2 separate regions of the Homo sapiens genome follow, and region 2 is linked to region 1. The links are contacts of gene promoters, found by promoter capture Hi-C in human tissues and cell types (Jung and others, 2019). All regions are on one chromosome and are shown on one strand. The core of a region is centred on a gene start or on the middle of the fragment in contact, and the rest is flanking DNA. Distances in the headings are between cores, read along the strand shown.

The links. The method cuts DNA at HindIII sites, captures the fragments that hold promoters and counts their contacts. A contact is called where the count stands out against the background at its distance.
Region 2: a fragment that was not itself captured here is called in contact with the fragment with the promoter of TLCD1 in region 1 in 5 of the 25 tissues and cell types used here (aorta, hippocampus, mesenchymal stem cells and 2 more).

Annotation. Positions count from the first base shown.
Region 1 is chr17:28,724,636-28,732,119 of GRCh38, reverse strand. TLCD1 (TLC domain containing 1) reads left to right here and starts at 5,887. Exons shown (of 4, transcript NM_138463.4): 1 at 5,887-6,216; 2 at 6,557-6,639; 3 at 6,734-6,816; 4 at 7,227-7,484. The coding sequence starts at 6,023. NEK8 (NIMA related kinase 8) reads right to left here and starts at 3,332. Exons shown (of 15, transcript NM_178170.3): 1 at 3,260-3,332. The coding sequence starts at 3,306. RefSeq lists enhancers at 4,904-5,627, 5,628-6,351, 6,519-6,568, 6,689-6,988, 6,352-7,075 and 3 more and a silencer at 5,579-6,108. The HindIII fragment of the contact is 6,466 bases long and covers 3,370-7,484 here.
Region 2 is chr17:28,783,152-28,790,635 of GRCh38, reverse strand. All of the region lies in intron 1 of FAM222B (family with sequence similarity 222 member B), which reads left to right. It overlaps LOC124903965 (a long non-coding RNA gene), which reads right to left. Exons shown (of 3, transcript XR_007065689.1): 3 at 7,085-7,413. Among named protein-coding and RNA genes, the nearest start is that of TRAF4, 43 kb to the right of the region's middle. The HindIII fragment of the contact is 3,691 bases long and covers 1-3,670 here.

The DNA of each region.
Region 1 (7,484 bases), core at 4,638-7,137:
TCTCTACTAAAAATACAAAAAATTAGCTAGGCATGCTGGTGGGTGCCTGTAGTCCCAGCTACTCGGGAGACTGAGGCAGTAGAATGGCGTGAACCCGTGAGGCGGAGCTTGCAGTGAGCCTAGATTGCGCCACTGCAGTCCAGCCTAGAAGATAGAGCAAGACTCCGTCTCAAAAAAAAAAAAAAAAAAAAAAAAAAAAAAAAAAAAAAAATTGGGGCCAGGCGCGGTGGCTCACGCCTGTAATCCCAGGCCTTTGGGAGACTGAGGCAGGCGGATCACGAGGTCAGCAGATCGAGACCATACTGGCTAACATGGTGAAACCCCGTCTCTACTAAAAAATACAAAAAAATTAGCCGGGAGTGGTGGCGGGCGCCTGTAGTTCCAGCTGCTAGGGAGGCTGAGGCAGAAGAATGGCGTGAACCTGGGAGGCGGAGCTTGCAATGAGCCGAGATGGTGCCACTGCACTCTAGTCTGGGTGACAGAGCGAGACTCTGTCTCAGAAAAAAAAAAAGAAAGAAAGAAAGACAAAATATAGAGGAATGGTCTGATAAGATTTTTTATTTTTCTATTTTTTTTATTTTTGAGAAGGAGTCTCACTCTGTTGCCAGGCGGGAGTGGAGCGGCGCGATCTCGGCTCACTACATCCTCCGCCTCCCAGGTTCAAGCAATTCTCCTCCCTCAGCCTCCCGAGTAGCTGGGACTACAGGCGCGTGCCACCCACGCCCAGCTAATTTTTTTATTTTTAGTAGAGACGGGGTTTTACCATGTTGGCCGGGATGGTCTCGATCTCTTGACCTCGTGACCTGCCCGCCTCGGCCTCCCAAAGTGCTGGGATTACAGGCATGACCCCCACGCCCGGCCTTTTTGTTTTTATTTTTTTTTGAGACAGAGTTTCACTCTTGTTGCCTAGGCTGTAGTGCAATGGCACAGTCTCAGCTCACTGCAACCTCTGCCTTCCAGGTTCAAGCGATTCTCCTGACTCAGCCTCCCAAGTAGCCGTCACAACACCCAGCTAAATTTTGTATTTTTAGTAGAGATGGGGTTTCACTGTGTTGGCCAGGCTGGTCTCGAACTCTTGACCTCAGGTGATCCAACCACCTCGGCCTCCCAAAGTGCTAGAATTACAGGCCTGAGCCACCGTGCCCGGCCCCTTCTTTCTTTCCTTTCTTTCTTTTTTTCTTGTATTATTTCTTTTTTTAGATAGGTTCTCACTCTGTCAACCAAGTTGAAGTGCAGGGGTCTCATCTCAGCTTACTACAGCCTCCACCTCCCATGCTCAAGTGATCCTCCCACCTCAGCCTCCTGAGTAGTTGGGACTACAGGCACATGCCAATGCCACCATACCTGGCTAATTTTTTTATTTTTTTGTAGACAGGGGGACTCATTGTGTTGCCCAGGCTGGTCTCTAACTCCTAAGCTCAAGCAATTGCCCATCTCGGCCTCCCAAAGTGCTAGGATTATAGGCGTGAGCCACTGCACCCTGCCCCTTTTCAGAAAACTCTGCCAAGTCTCAGGATCACTCTTCCTCTTTAAAACCCTTCCTGGTGGCTGGGAGTGGTGGCTCACGCCTGTAATCCCAACACTTTGGGAGGCAGAAGCAGGTGGATCGCCTGAGGTCAGGAGTTCGAGACCAGGCTGGCCAACATGGTGAAACCCTGTCTCTACTAAAAATACAAAAAATTAGCCAGGCATGGTGGCACACGCCTGTAAGGCTGAGGCAGGAGAATTGCTTGAACCCGGGAGGCGGGGCTTGCAGTAAGCCAAGATGGTGCCATTGCACTCCAGCCTGGGCAACAGAGGAGACTCTGTCTCACAAAAAAAAAAAAAAAAAAAAAAAAAAAATTAGCCGGTTGTTGTGGCGTGTGCCTGTAGTCCCAGCTACTCAGGATGCTGAGGCAGGAGAATTGCGTGAACCCGGGAGGCGGAGATTGCAGTGAACTGAGATTGCCACTACACTCCAGCCTGAGCGACAGTGCAAGACTCCGTCTCAAAAACAAAAACAAAAACAAAACAAAACCGTTTGTGGCAAATGAACCTTTTATCTCAGGTTATCAGGCCATAATCTAGTCCCCGCCCTCGACAATTACATTTTATACCATTCTCTACCTTGCCCACTACATTCCAACTATTACTAGTCTTTCTCGGTTTCTTGAATGCTCTGTTTTCCCATGTGAGACATTTCACATACGCTATTTCCTTTGCCTGAAAAGTTCTCCCTTCACCTGCAGACTACTGGTCCTCATTCCTCAAGTCTTGGCCTTAAATCTCACTTCTGGCCTGTCGCGGTGGCTCACGCCTGTAATTCCAGCACTTAGGGAGGCCGGCGCGGGCGGATCACCTGAGGTCAGGAATTTGAGACCAGCCTGGCCAACATGGCGAAACCCCATCTGTACTAAAAACACAAAAAATATTAGCTGGGCATGGTGGCGCGTGCCTGTAGTCCCAGCTACTCGGGAGGCTGAGGCAGGAGAAGCGCTTGAACCAGGGAGGCAGAGGTTGCAGTGAGCTGAGATAGTGCCACTGCACTCGAGATCGCGCCACTGCGACAGAGTGAGACTGCCTCAAAAAAAAAAAAAAAAAAAAAAAATCCAAAAAATTTAGCCGGGCATGGTGGCGCACGCCTGTAATCCTAGCTACTCGGGAGGCTGAGGCACAACGATTGCTTGAACCCAGGAGGTGGTGGTTGCAGTGTGCCAAGATCGTGCCACTGAACTCCAGCCGGGGTGACAGAGGGAGACTCTGTCTTAAAAATCAATCAAGCAAGCAAGCAATCTCCCTTCTCAGAGAATTCTTCCTTGACCATCTCATATAAGTATTCTCACTGGTAATGTACTCTATCCTCACAACCTGCTAATAACACTTCATAACTGCTATAACTTCTTACTTCATAATGTTTTGTTTATTGTATAACTTTCCCACAGTCAGTAAGTTCCAAGAGGGAAAAGACCACGCCCGTTCCGGTTCTAACTATATACCCAGCGGCCAAAGCCTGACATACATAGCTGGCACTCAGTATTTGTTGAACGAATGAATAAAGAAGCTAACATAACTCAGTGGGCGGAGCAATGGGCCTGTCAGGGGCGTGGCCTCCGTAGAGGCGGAGTCTCCCCGGGGGACTGGGACCGGAAGCTTGGGCGGGGCTTCCCAGAGTGGCGCTCACGCCTTGGGGCGGGATTAGGCGGGCGGCGACTTCGCGGGCGGAATTGGGGCTTATTTTCCCTATCCCCTAGCAGTTTCCTCCCCCAGAGCCCTGGCTCACCCGAAGGCACCTCTCCCCACCACTCGGATCCGCTCGTACTTCTCCATCTCATTTCTTAGAGTTTCACTTCCGTCCCCCACGCGGCGCGTGCGCGGACCCACCCACTCTGGGCCCCGCCCCTTCACGGCGAGCGGCTTGCGGGGCGGAGCCAGCGCCCTAGGTGTGGGTTCCGCCACGCGTCCGTATTTGTGGGCCTGCACCACACACCTCCCGCTGCGACACGCCGTCACTTTTCCCCTCACGACCCTGCCCCACGCAGTGTCCAAGAATAGGGCAAGAAAATAGGGCGCGCCCGCAATGGCGGGCACGGTACCCGCCCCTCCCACACATATACCCAGCCCTTGTAAAGCTTGCTAGACTAAAAGGATGTCGCGTTCCCGAGAGTTAAACCCCACAGGCCGGGAAGGGGTGGGAAGAGAAGATTGACCCCCTTCTTGCCCACGAGTGACGCTATTTCAGGAGAAAGCGGGTTCTCCTTGGCACGCAAACGATAAACACACCCAAAACGACCGAGACCAGCGCTCCTGGGAGAAGGCAGCAGGGTTGGTTTCGTGTTTGCCTGGGGAGGGACGGGGGAAATCCCAAGTCGTGCAAGTTGATTCACCTGAAGAGGACATGACACGGTCTCGGGCCGTCCCGACTAGTGAGCGCCGCGCTCGTCAGCACTCTCAACTCCCCTTTCACACACGCGCTGCAGGAGGGTAATCTGCCCTCAGTGCTCATCTTCCCATGGGGGAAGATGGGGGCGGTAGTGGGTCAGTACCTGAAAGCATCAAGGGGAGAAGGAAAGACCGCGGTTTCGCCGAAATGAGCTCAAGGCAAAAGCCTAGAGGCAGGGGGCTGGTTAGTGTGACCAGCTAGGCTCTTTACCGGAAGTGAGGTTAATTCCAGGTTCTCCCGGGCTCCTGCTCTGCGGGAGCTCTAGAAAAACTCAGTATTCGGCCAGGCGCGGTGGCTCACGCCTGTAATTCCAGCACTTTGGGGAGGCCGAGGCGGGCGGATCACCTGAGGTCAGGAGTTTGAGACCAACCTGGCCAACATGGTAAAACCTCGTCTCTACTAAAAATACAAAAATTAGTTGGGCACGGTGGCGCGCGCTTGTAATCCCAGCTACTCGGGAGGCTGAGGCAGGAGAATCGCTTGAATCTGGGAGGCGGAGGTTGCAGTGAGCCGAGATCGTGCCATTGCACTCCAGCCTGGGCGATAGAGTGAGCCTCCATCTCAAAAAAAAAAAAAGAAAGAAAGAAAACATCAGTATTCAGGAGGAGGATGGTCACTAGCTGAAGGTTAGCGTCCCTGTATCAGAGTGGGCAAGGGGTGTGAGGAAAGGGGCGTTTTATCTTCTGCCCCTGTCCTGGCTCTCGCAAGGGTATCCAAACCCACCCACGTGGAATGACTGCTGGAAGGGCGCTGGCTCAGGCCGGTGTCGGCCGGCGGACAGAGCAGCTCTGTGAGCCAAGGGGAGGGGCGGGAAAGCCGCTCACCCAGGACACCCGTGTTCTCACCTAGAAACCGACTGGGCTTTGGTTGACTTAAGAGTCCCACAGGGGTTAATGTGTAACCTTGGAGCCATAGGGGAGGAAAACACTCAAACGGCTTGGTCCCTGGGTCCTTGCGCCTCAGGTTTTCTCGGCTTCTTCCTCCCGCCCGCAGCACCTTTCCCCTCCCCCGCTTCTTCCCGCCCCTCCTCTATTACTACCCTCTTCTCCCTCCCCGCTCTCATCTCCGCTTAACTTCCCTCGCTGGCTCTCAGCTGCTCCTCCTTTCGCCCAGAGTTTATACCTAAACTCTCCCCGAAAGCAGCTGCCTCGCTCGGAGGCGGGAGGGGGAGCCCGCGCCACAGTGAGGGCAGGCTGACACCTAGTGGCTAGGAGCCGCAACTGCTGCAAGCTACCGGCTTGGAGAGCGCGGGTCACTCCAGCTGTCCCGGCAAATCGGAGGTCTTGCTTGCCCAGCCTCCGGGGAGCCGGGCCGAGGGCCGGGACTGTCTGAGGGAGGACTGTGACAGCCGCCCGGCCCCAGGAGTTTAAGAGCCGGCGGGAAGAGGTGGCGATGGGTTACTCAGCAGTTCCCAAGTGCCCACCTCGCGGGCGCGGGAGGGACAGGTAAACACGGGACTCCGGCCAGAAGACTGCGAGTGGTGCGGTAGGGGCACTGGGTCTGCACGGAGACCACTGTCGGACGCGGGGCTCCGGAGCCCACCCCAGGACCAGGACTTAGGGGGCGTGGGCGTGTCGGGTCCCGTCCAGCTCTGCGCAGAAAGTAGAGGGCGGAGAGAGCTCTCGCGGTACCCGCCCAGGGCGGGGTAGCCGGTGGCCCGGGGAAAAGTGGGGACGCGGGTTAATGAGGCCAGGCGAGCGAGGGCAGCGGGGACTCCGTCGGCAGTCGGGAGGCGCCAGCGAGGGGTGTCTCGGCGACGACGCCCCCAGCACAGCTCCTAGTTACCCGAAGTCCGCGGGAGCCGGCCGGTGGCCGAGAGGCCACGGGGACACCCGGCTCGCGCGGCAGCAGCGCCTGAGGGGCGGGGGCAGGCGGACGGGGCGGGGGCAGGCGGGCGGGGCGGGGGCGCGGGCGGCTGGGGGCGGGGGCAGAGGCCTCGCAGGGAGGGCGAGGAGGAGCCAAGGGGCCTAGAGGGCTTCGCCAACTGTGTGGGGCTGGCGGCCGGCGGGAGAGGCGGCCGGCCTGGACTGGCCCGAGAGGGATCCCGGTTCCCAGAACAGACCTAGGAGGCGGCCTCGAGGGCGGACGGCAGGGAGGGCCAGCATGCCCCGACTGCTGCACCCCGCCCTGCCGCTGCTCCTGGGCGCCACGCTGACCTTCCGGGCGCTCCGGCGCGCGCTCTGTCGCCTGCCCCTACCCGTGCACGTGCGCGCCGACCCCCTGCGCACCTGGCGCTGGCACAACCTGCTCGTCTCCTTCGCTCACTCCATTGTGTCGGGGATCTGGGCACTGCTGTGGTGAGTGAGCGACTGTGGAAATGAGGTGGCCAGGGGATCCTGAGCGGGGAGCCGGGGCCGGCTCTTGTGTTACTACCCCCATCGCTCACTGGCGGGCTGAGGCCACGCAGTCTCACCTGATCCCGTTTGGTATCCTATCCAACCAAAAGCCGCAGTGGCCCCAGGGGAGGGGGATCGCCCCTGGGAAACTGGAGGCTCTTGGGTTTTGCCCAGCCACTCTTAGCTTCCCAGTCAGCCACTAGCGCGAGCCCAGGATCCCCCGGGGCTGCGAAGGGTAACCGAGAAGTTGATGGTCCTTGAGGGTGCCGAAATGCAGAGCCTCCTCTTCCCTCCTTTCCAGTGTATGGCAGACTCCTGACATGTTAGTGGAGATTGAGACGGCGTGGTCACTTTCTGGCTATTTGCTCGTTTGCTTCTCTGCGGGTAGGTCTTGCCCAGGAAGCGGGAGGCAAATTGGGGACAGGGAGAAGGAAGCTGCTTGTTCAGTTCATGATCTCTTGCCCCATCCCTCCACTAGGGTATTTCATCCACGATACGGTGGACATCGTGGCTAGCGGACAGACGCGAGCCTCTTGGGAATACCTTGTCCATCACGTCATGGTAAGAGAGAAGCAGACTATGTGGTATAGGCCTGGTGTCAGTAATCTAGTCTCAGCTCCGTCTTTCTGAATCTGGGAGAAGGCCGTGTTTTCTTACCACCCACCCCCGACCTGTGTGCTACTTCTTATGCTAGGATGCTGGAGGTTGGCAGTCTGTACTTGTTCACTGAGGCCAGCAACCCATGGTTTCACTGCCTCTTTAGACTGAACATCACCCACAGCCAGCTGTGAGCAGCAATCAAAATCTAGTAATGTTGAACTAACAAAACAAAGCATCTTACCCACTATAAACTATTATTCCAGGGGGAAATTTGGGATTTTCCAGCCCTCAATCTGATAGCCACACCCCCCAAACTTCCAGGAAAGCGTCTGCATCTGGGTTCCCTAACTCCTATTCTTTCTTCCCTCTAGGCCATGGGTGCCTTCTTCTCCGGCATCTTTTGGAGCAGCTTTGTCGGTGGGGGTGTCTTAACACTACTGGTGGAAGTCAGCAACATCTTCCTCACCATTCGCATGATGATGAAAATCAGTAATGCCCAGGATCATCTCCTCTACCGGGTTAACAAGTATGTGAACCTGGTCATGTACTTTCTCTTCCGCCTGGCCCCTCAGGCCTACCTCACCCATTTCTTCTTGCGTTATGTGAACCAGAGGACCCTGGGCACCTTC
Region 2 (7,484 bases), core at 576-3,075, 63 kb before region 1:
TATGCTTTATAGCAAAAAGGATCCAGGTCAGAATCACACATTGCATTTATTTTTCATGTTGTCTTAGTCTCCTCCAGTCTGGAACAGTTTCTTCAGGCCTTCTTTGATGTTCATAACCTTGATGCTATTAAGTTATTTTGTAGAAAGTCCCTCAATTTGGACTTGTCTGGTGGTTCCTTGTGTTTAATTTAGGTAACATATCTTCAACAGGAATATCACAGGAGTGATGCTGTGTTCTTCACTGCATGATTTCAAAAGGTACAGAATTTTGATTTGTATCGTTACTGATAATGTTTGATCACTTGATTAAGGTGGTGTTTGCTAGGCTTTTCCTAAGTAAAGTTACTCATTTTCCCTTTGTAATTAGTATTTTTAGGAGACAGGGCTTAGAAACTATACAAATATTGCATTCCTTTTCAGCCTTCCAATGTATTTGTTTACATTAGTATGAACTAATGATTTCTTGTTTTATTCAATGAAATATCATCTTTTATTATTTATTTTGATGCTCAGATTATTCCCGATTTGGCCAGTAAATCAAGAAAAAAAATTATATAAATATATGTTTAATCATAAAAATGCCCAAATAATCTGCCATTCTTTTATTTCAATAGGTTGACAGATAAATACTCCCCAAACTAACACCTTACAGGCAATGGTAGAAAAGAAAAATTCACAACTGTTGTATTCTGGTAACATGCCTGCTTTACCCAGTGTACCCACTCAATGTCTTCTCTAATTTCTACTGTGTAAACTTCTGTCTCTGGGGTTTCCCTCACCAACTAAGCATCTTGTGCCTTCTTTGTCCTTTGATATTTCACTGTTATTCTTTGAGCACTTCCTTTCCTGCACAATAAGATATATTAGACTCATCTAGTACTTTCTCTGCCTCAGTCAATTCTCCAAGGAGCCTTGGTTCCTTTCAATGGAAAATGCAGTATTTAGAAACCAAGAGTAGGCCCTGTTGGGGCTCATTGCAATTGGGTGGGAGTGATCACTGCATCCAGTACTCTTCTCATTCTGTTTGGGTAGCTTCCATTTCTAATTCAATTGAAGTGACTTAATAGAACTGGGTAAAAGTTGATAAGGACACTGAGTTGGTAAGGGAGGTCCCAAAGAGAGAAGAAATTAAAGAGGACAGTGGGCCAGGCACAGTGGCTCACGCCTGTAACCCCAGGAATTTGGGGGGCCGAGGCAGGTGGATCGTTCAGGAGTTCAAGACCAGCCTGGCTAAGATGGTGAAACCCCGTGTGTACTAAGAATACAAAAAATTAGCTGTGCATGGTGGTGGGTGCCTGTAATCCCAGCTACTCATGAGGCTGAGACAGAGAGTTGCTTGAACCCAGGAGGTAGAGGTTGCAATGAGCTGAGATTCCGCCACTGCACACTCCAGCCTGCGTAACAGAGCGAGACTCCATCTCAAAAAAAAAAAAAAGGACACAGAATGAAGAAGATGTGTACCAGTAATAGAAGAATTTTGAACTTTTGTTTTCTACCACTATCCATAAGATTACTTGTCGGGGGGGTGTTAGTTTTTTTTTTTTTTTTTTTTTTTTGAGGTATCTTTGAGATAAAAGAAAGGCAAGGCCGGGCGCTGTGGCTTACATCTGTAATCCCAGCACTTTGGGAGGCCGAGGCAGGCAGGCAGATCACCTGAAATCAGGAGTTCAAGACCAGCCTGGCTAACATGGTGAAACCCCATCTCTACTAAACTAAAAATACAAAAATTAGGTGGGTGTGGTGGCGGGCATCTGTAATCCCAGCTACTCGGGAGGCTGAGGCAGGAGAATTGTTTGAACCTGGGAGGCAGTGGTTATAGTAAGCCAATATTGCATCACTGCGCTCCAGCCTGGATGACAGAGTGAGACTCTGACTCAAAAAACAAAAGTAAATTAATTTTAAAAGGGAGGGCAAATTACAATTATTTGGGCATCTTTAGAGTTACATGTATATTTATTGGATTTTTCCTCCCCGATTAACTCAATGCTAAAATAATGTTGACTTAAATGACTTGTTTGGTGGGACTTAATATGTAGTATAAGATGCATATTTGACAGGTTAGAAGCAGTCACACACTTTGATAAATAACAATACTGAGGCCGGACGCGGTGGCTCATGCCTGTAATCCCAGCACTTTGGGAGGCCGAGGCAGGCAGATTGCCTGAGCTCATGAGTTCCAGACCAGCCTGGGCAACATGGCAAAAACCTGTCTCTATAAAAAACAAAAAAATTAGCCACATGCAATGGTGTGCACCTATAATCCCAGCTACTCAGGAAGCTGAGGCAAGAAGATCCGTTAAGCCTAGAAGTTCAAGGTTGCAGTGAGCTATGATTGCACCACCATACTCCAGCCTGGATGACAGGGTGAGACCTTGTGTCAAAAACAAACAAAAAAGCAATTCTGAATGACTTTTGAATTTCTCAGGTCCACAGAAGGGAGCCAAATAATTCTGCTGATCATTGAGTGAGTTGTGGTACTTTCAACACTTTAGAGGTTTAAAGGACTGCTTTAGGCTGGGTGCGGTGGCTCACGCCTGTAATCCCAGCACTTTGGGAGGCCGAGGCGGGCGGATCACCTGAGGTTGGGAGTTCAAAACTAGCCTGACCAACATGGAGAAACCCCATCTCTACTAAAAATTCAAAATTAGCTGGGTGTGGTGGCACATTCCTGTAATCCTAGCCACTCGGGAGGCTGAGGCAGGAGAATTGCTTGAACCCAGGAGGTGGAGGTTGCGGTGAGCCAAGATCGTGCCATTGCACTCCAGCCTGCAACAAGAGCGAAACTCCGTCTCAAAAAAAAAAAAAAAAAGACTACTTTATTAGTTTTTTATTTGTTTTGCAGACAGTTCCTGAAATGAGGAAGCTTCCTAAAGTGAATTTCAGAATCTTTATCTGTGTGTTTACCCTAGCTATGAAAGTATTATTCTAACAGGGACTGTATATCTGTTTTTCCTTCCTGTAGATTGACCCAGCATTGCAAATTTCATTAGCTAGTTGTGGTCTGCCAGGTGTGGAAGGGGGTGCTCCACCTCTTCCTTTAAGCTTTCAATTCTCGGGCCCCTTTAAGCTTAGCAGCCTCTTGAGCTTTCAGAGACCCTTTAGCTTCAGAAACCTGCTAATTCCTTGGACATGTGGAGCGTGAACCATAAATCTTCAAGTTATAGTGAGTCTCAGTGACAAGCAATGTAAGTGCTTTGATTTTCACTAAGGCTATATAGAAGCCTTTGACAAAGGTTATTACATATCAGGATTCCTCATGGTCCATACTCAGGCTGGGGGAGGAGAAGGAAGGGCCTAAAGGGAATAGAATGCATTAATGTATCAAACTTGTCTTTCTGTATTACCTTATAATCTGCCTTGGCAAGATTGGGAAACTAGCCCTAGATAACAGAAGAATAGAAGATACAGTGGGGGCTGGGCATGGTGGCTCACGCCTGTAATCCCAGCACTTTGGGAGGCCGAGGAGGGTGGATCACGAGGTCAGGAGATCATACCATCCTGGCTAACATGGTGAAACCCCGTCTCTACTAAAAATACAAAAAAATTAGCTGGGCGTGGTTGCGGGCGCCTGTAGTCTCAACTACTCAGGAGGCTGAGGCAGGAGAATGGCGTGAACCCAGGAGGTGGAGGTTGCCGTGAGCGGAGATCGCACCACTGCACTCGAGATCGCGCCACTGCACTCCAGGCTGGGCGACAGAGCGAGACTCTGTCTCAAAAAAAAAAAAAAAAAAAAAAAAAAAATACAGTGAAGGGCAGTGTGTTAGCTATAAGTAAAACTTCATTCTCCCTGCCCTGAATTTACTGTCCTTTCTGAAACTCTTCACTAGCAATGTATGGCAAGGCGTTGTGCACAGAGAACTAGTTCTAAGAAGTTGTCAGACCAAATGGATACATAGTGGGTACATGGCCAAGTACACATGTGAAATCCTTTTTCCCAGAAAATTCAAAATAATATAGGGAGCAGGGAGATGCTTCCTGCTAGAGACCTGGGCGGGCTGTATGATGCCCAGCTTCCAAAAGATGTCACAGCACAAGTGTCCAAATGAAAACTGACTTAGGAAAGGTATGAGTTGAGAGTAGGCTTAAAGTCAGGGTTTACTTCTTACATTCAGGGAGAGAATGAGGATACAAGGGGAAGGGTTTTCTGTGCTAGGATTGCTTGAGAATGAGAGGTAACTATTCCATCATTAGTTGTATTGTGTTTTGATACAGTTTACTCTGTGTGAATAATACAGCTCTCCCCTGGGGGAATAAAAGTCTGACCACTTCAAGCTTTCCTTTGCCTATGTATAGTCATTTTCCCAGCGGATTTACCTTGCTTATAGTTGCTGTCTTATCCTTCACTTTGAAAGGATTTTCACTATGAATTGATTTCAAAGTGTTAGGCTAGCCAAAGCATAAGAATGAGTTACATTGCAAAGTGTTGGCCTAGGAGAGGTGATTCCTCCAATTCATTAGGAAGTCAGTAATTACATGCACACTTAAAAAAAAAAACAAAACCTATGGCCGGGTGTGGTGGCTCACACCTGTAATCCCAGCACTTTGGGAGGCCGAGGTGGATAGATCACGAGGTGAGGAGATCGAGACCATCCTGGCCAACAAGGTGAAACCCCGTCTCTACTAAAAATACAAAAATTAGCTGGGTGTGGTGCCTCACACCTGTAATCCCAGCACTTTGGGAGGCCAAGGCAGGCGGAGAGGAGATCGAGACCATCCTGGCTAACATGGTGAAACCCCGTCTCTACTAAAAATACAAAAAAATTAGCAGGGCATGGTGGCAGGCACCTGTAGTCCCAGCTACTCGGGAGGCTGAGGCAGGAGAATCGTTTGAACCTGGGAGATGGAGTTGCAGTAAGCTGAGATTGCGAGATTGCGTCATTGCACTCCAGCCTAGGCTACAAGAGTGAAACTTTGTCTCAAAAAAAAAAAAAAAATAGCCGGGCATGGTGGCACATGCCTGTAATCTCAGCTACTTGGGAGGCTGAGGCAGGAGAATTGCTTGAACCTGGGAGGCGGAGGTTGCAGTGAGCTGAAATCGTGCCATTGCACTCCAGCCTGGGCAACAAGAGCGAAACTCTGTCTCAAAAATAATATCATCCTCATCCTCATCATCATCATCATCAAAACCACGGCTTAGAATTGTGTGTTTTTGTCGTATATAATAGTGTAATCAGAGGGATATAATATGTGCTTGTTAAACATTGACTAGAGAGGCAGCTATGGAACCGTTCAATGTTTTTCAGACATTTTATCTATGCCCACGATAAAGATTGCATCTCAGTAAACACACACATAGAATATAGATAACAGTCATGAAAAAATAAGTATGCTTACTATTATTTTGTGGCATTTTAAATTCAACACTTTTAAAAGGCTGGTCACAGCCTGCAGATTGGAAAATATTTAATGGAATGATCACATGTCTAGGAACTAAGACAGAGATTCAATACCAGATCCACTGACCCAGCTTTATATCACAGAACAAGTTACTTAATCTTTCTGAGCCTGGGTTTCCTTATCTGTAGAAAGAGAATAATACTTGTTCCATCTAGATTAGGATTGTTTTAAATTTCAAATTAAGGCTGGGCACAGTGGCTCATACCTATAAACCCAGCACTTTGGGAGACTGAGGTGGGAGAATCATTTGAGTCCAGGAGTTTAAGACCAGCCTGGGAAACATAGTGAGACCCCATCTCTACATAAAGGAAAAAAAAAAAAATAGCTGGGCATGGTGGCTCACACCTGTAGTCCCACCTACTCAGAAGGCTGAGGTGGGAGGATCACTTGAGCCCGGGAGGTTGAGGCTTCAATGAGCCGTGTTTCACGCCATTGGATATTGAAGCCTGGGTGACAGAGCAGCTCACTGCAACCTCCATCTCCTGGGTTCAAGCAATTCTCCTGCCTCAGCCTCCTGAGTAGCTTTGATTACAGGTCCCTGCCACCACGCCCAGCTAATTTTTTGTATTTTTAGTAGAGACGGGGTTTCATTGTGTTAGCCAGGATGGTCTCGATCTCCTGATCCGCCCACCTCAGCCTCCCAGAGTGCTGGGATTACAGGCGTGAGCCACCGCGCCCAGTGAAAAGTAATAGTAATGATTATTGCCTTTTTTTTTTTTTTTTTTTTTTTTTTTTTTTTTTTTTTTTAAGAGAGGGGATCTTACTCTGTTGTTGCCCAGGCTGGAGTACAGTGGATATTCACAGGTGTCACTATGGCACACTGCAAGCTCAGGCTCCTGAGCTCCAGCAATTCTGTCCTCTCAGCCTCCTAAGTCGTTGGGACTATAAGTTTATGCCACCACACTTGGCTAATTTTTTAAAAGTTTTTAAAGAGTTGGAATTTTACTGCGTTGCCCATGCTGGTCTTAAATTCCTGGCCTCAAGCAGTCTTCCTACCTCAGCCTCCTGAGTAGCTGGGATTACAGATGTGAGCCACTGTGCCCCACAAGAGCCAACATGTAAATAATGTTTACTGTGTATCAGGCACCTAAGCACTGGAATATGTTAAACCCAAATTTAATCTTCAAAATAATCTCGGCCAGGTGTGGTGGTGGCTCACACCTGTAATCCTAGCACTTTGGGAGGCCGAGGCGGGTGGATCACCTGAGGTTAAGAGTTCGAGACCAGCCTGGCCAACATGGTGAAACCCCATCTCTACTAAAAATACAAAAAATTAACCAGGCGTGGTGGCAGGAGCCTGTAACCCCAGCTACTTGGGAGCCTGAGGCAGGAGAATCGCTTGAACCCAGGAGGAAGAGGTTGCAGTGAGCCGAGATTGTGCCACTGCACTACAGCCAGGGCAAGAGAGTGAGACTCAGCCTCAAAAAAGTCTGGGCGCAGTGGCTCATACCTATAATCCTAGCAGTTTGGGAGGCCGAGGCAGGTGGATCATTTGAGGCCAGGAGTTCAAGACCAGCCTGGCCAACATGGTGAAACCCTGTCTCTACTAAAGATACAAAAAATTAGCTGGATGCACTGGTGCGTGCCTGTAATCCCAGCTAGGGAGGCTGAAGCAGGAGAATCCCTTGAACCTGGGAAGCGGAGGTTGCAGTGAGCCAAGATTTTGCCACTGCACTCCAGCCTGGGCGACAGAGCGAGACTTTGTTTAAAAAAAAAAAAAAAAATCTCATGAAGGTAGGGTACATTTTATAAATGGTGGTAAACTATGTTCCCAAGGTCACACAGCTGGTAAATGCAAAGAGCTGGGATTCAAATTTAGTCAGTGTGCTTCCAGTGTTCTCTTACCCACTTCTGTGTAGTGCCTTTTTGTTAATCTCAGGTTTCTTGAGGTGATCTGAGCTTCAGTTGACATTTACCCGTGGATATTCCCCTTTTGAAAACTTCTCCAAGAATGACTTGTCCTTGCTACCACATCTTTTTCCTGGGTTACTTCCTGGCTCTGTCAATTTTATGTTTCTGTAATCCAAATTAGGAGAAACTAATTTGTATGTTATCCTAAACTAGACAGTCTAGGAATGAGTTTGTTT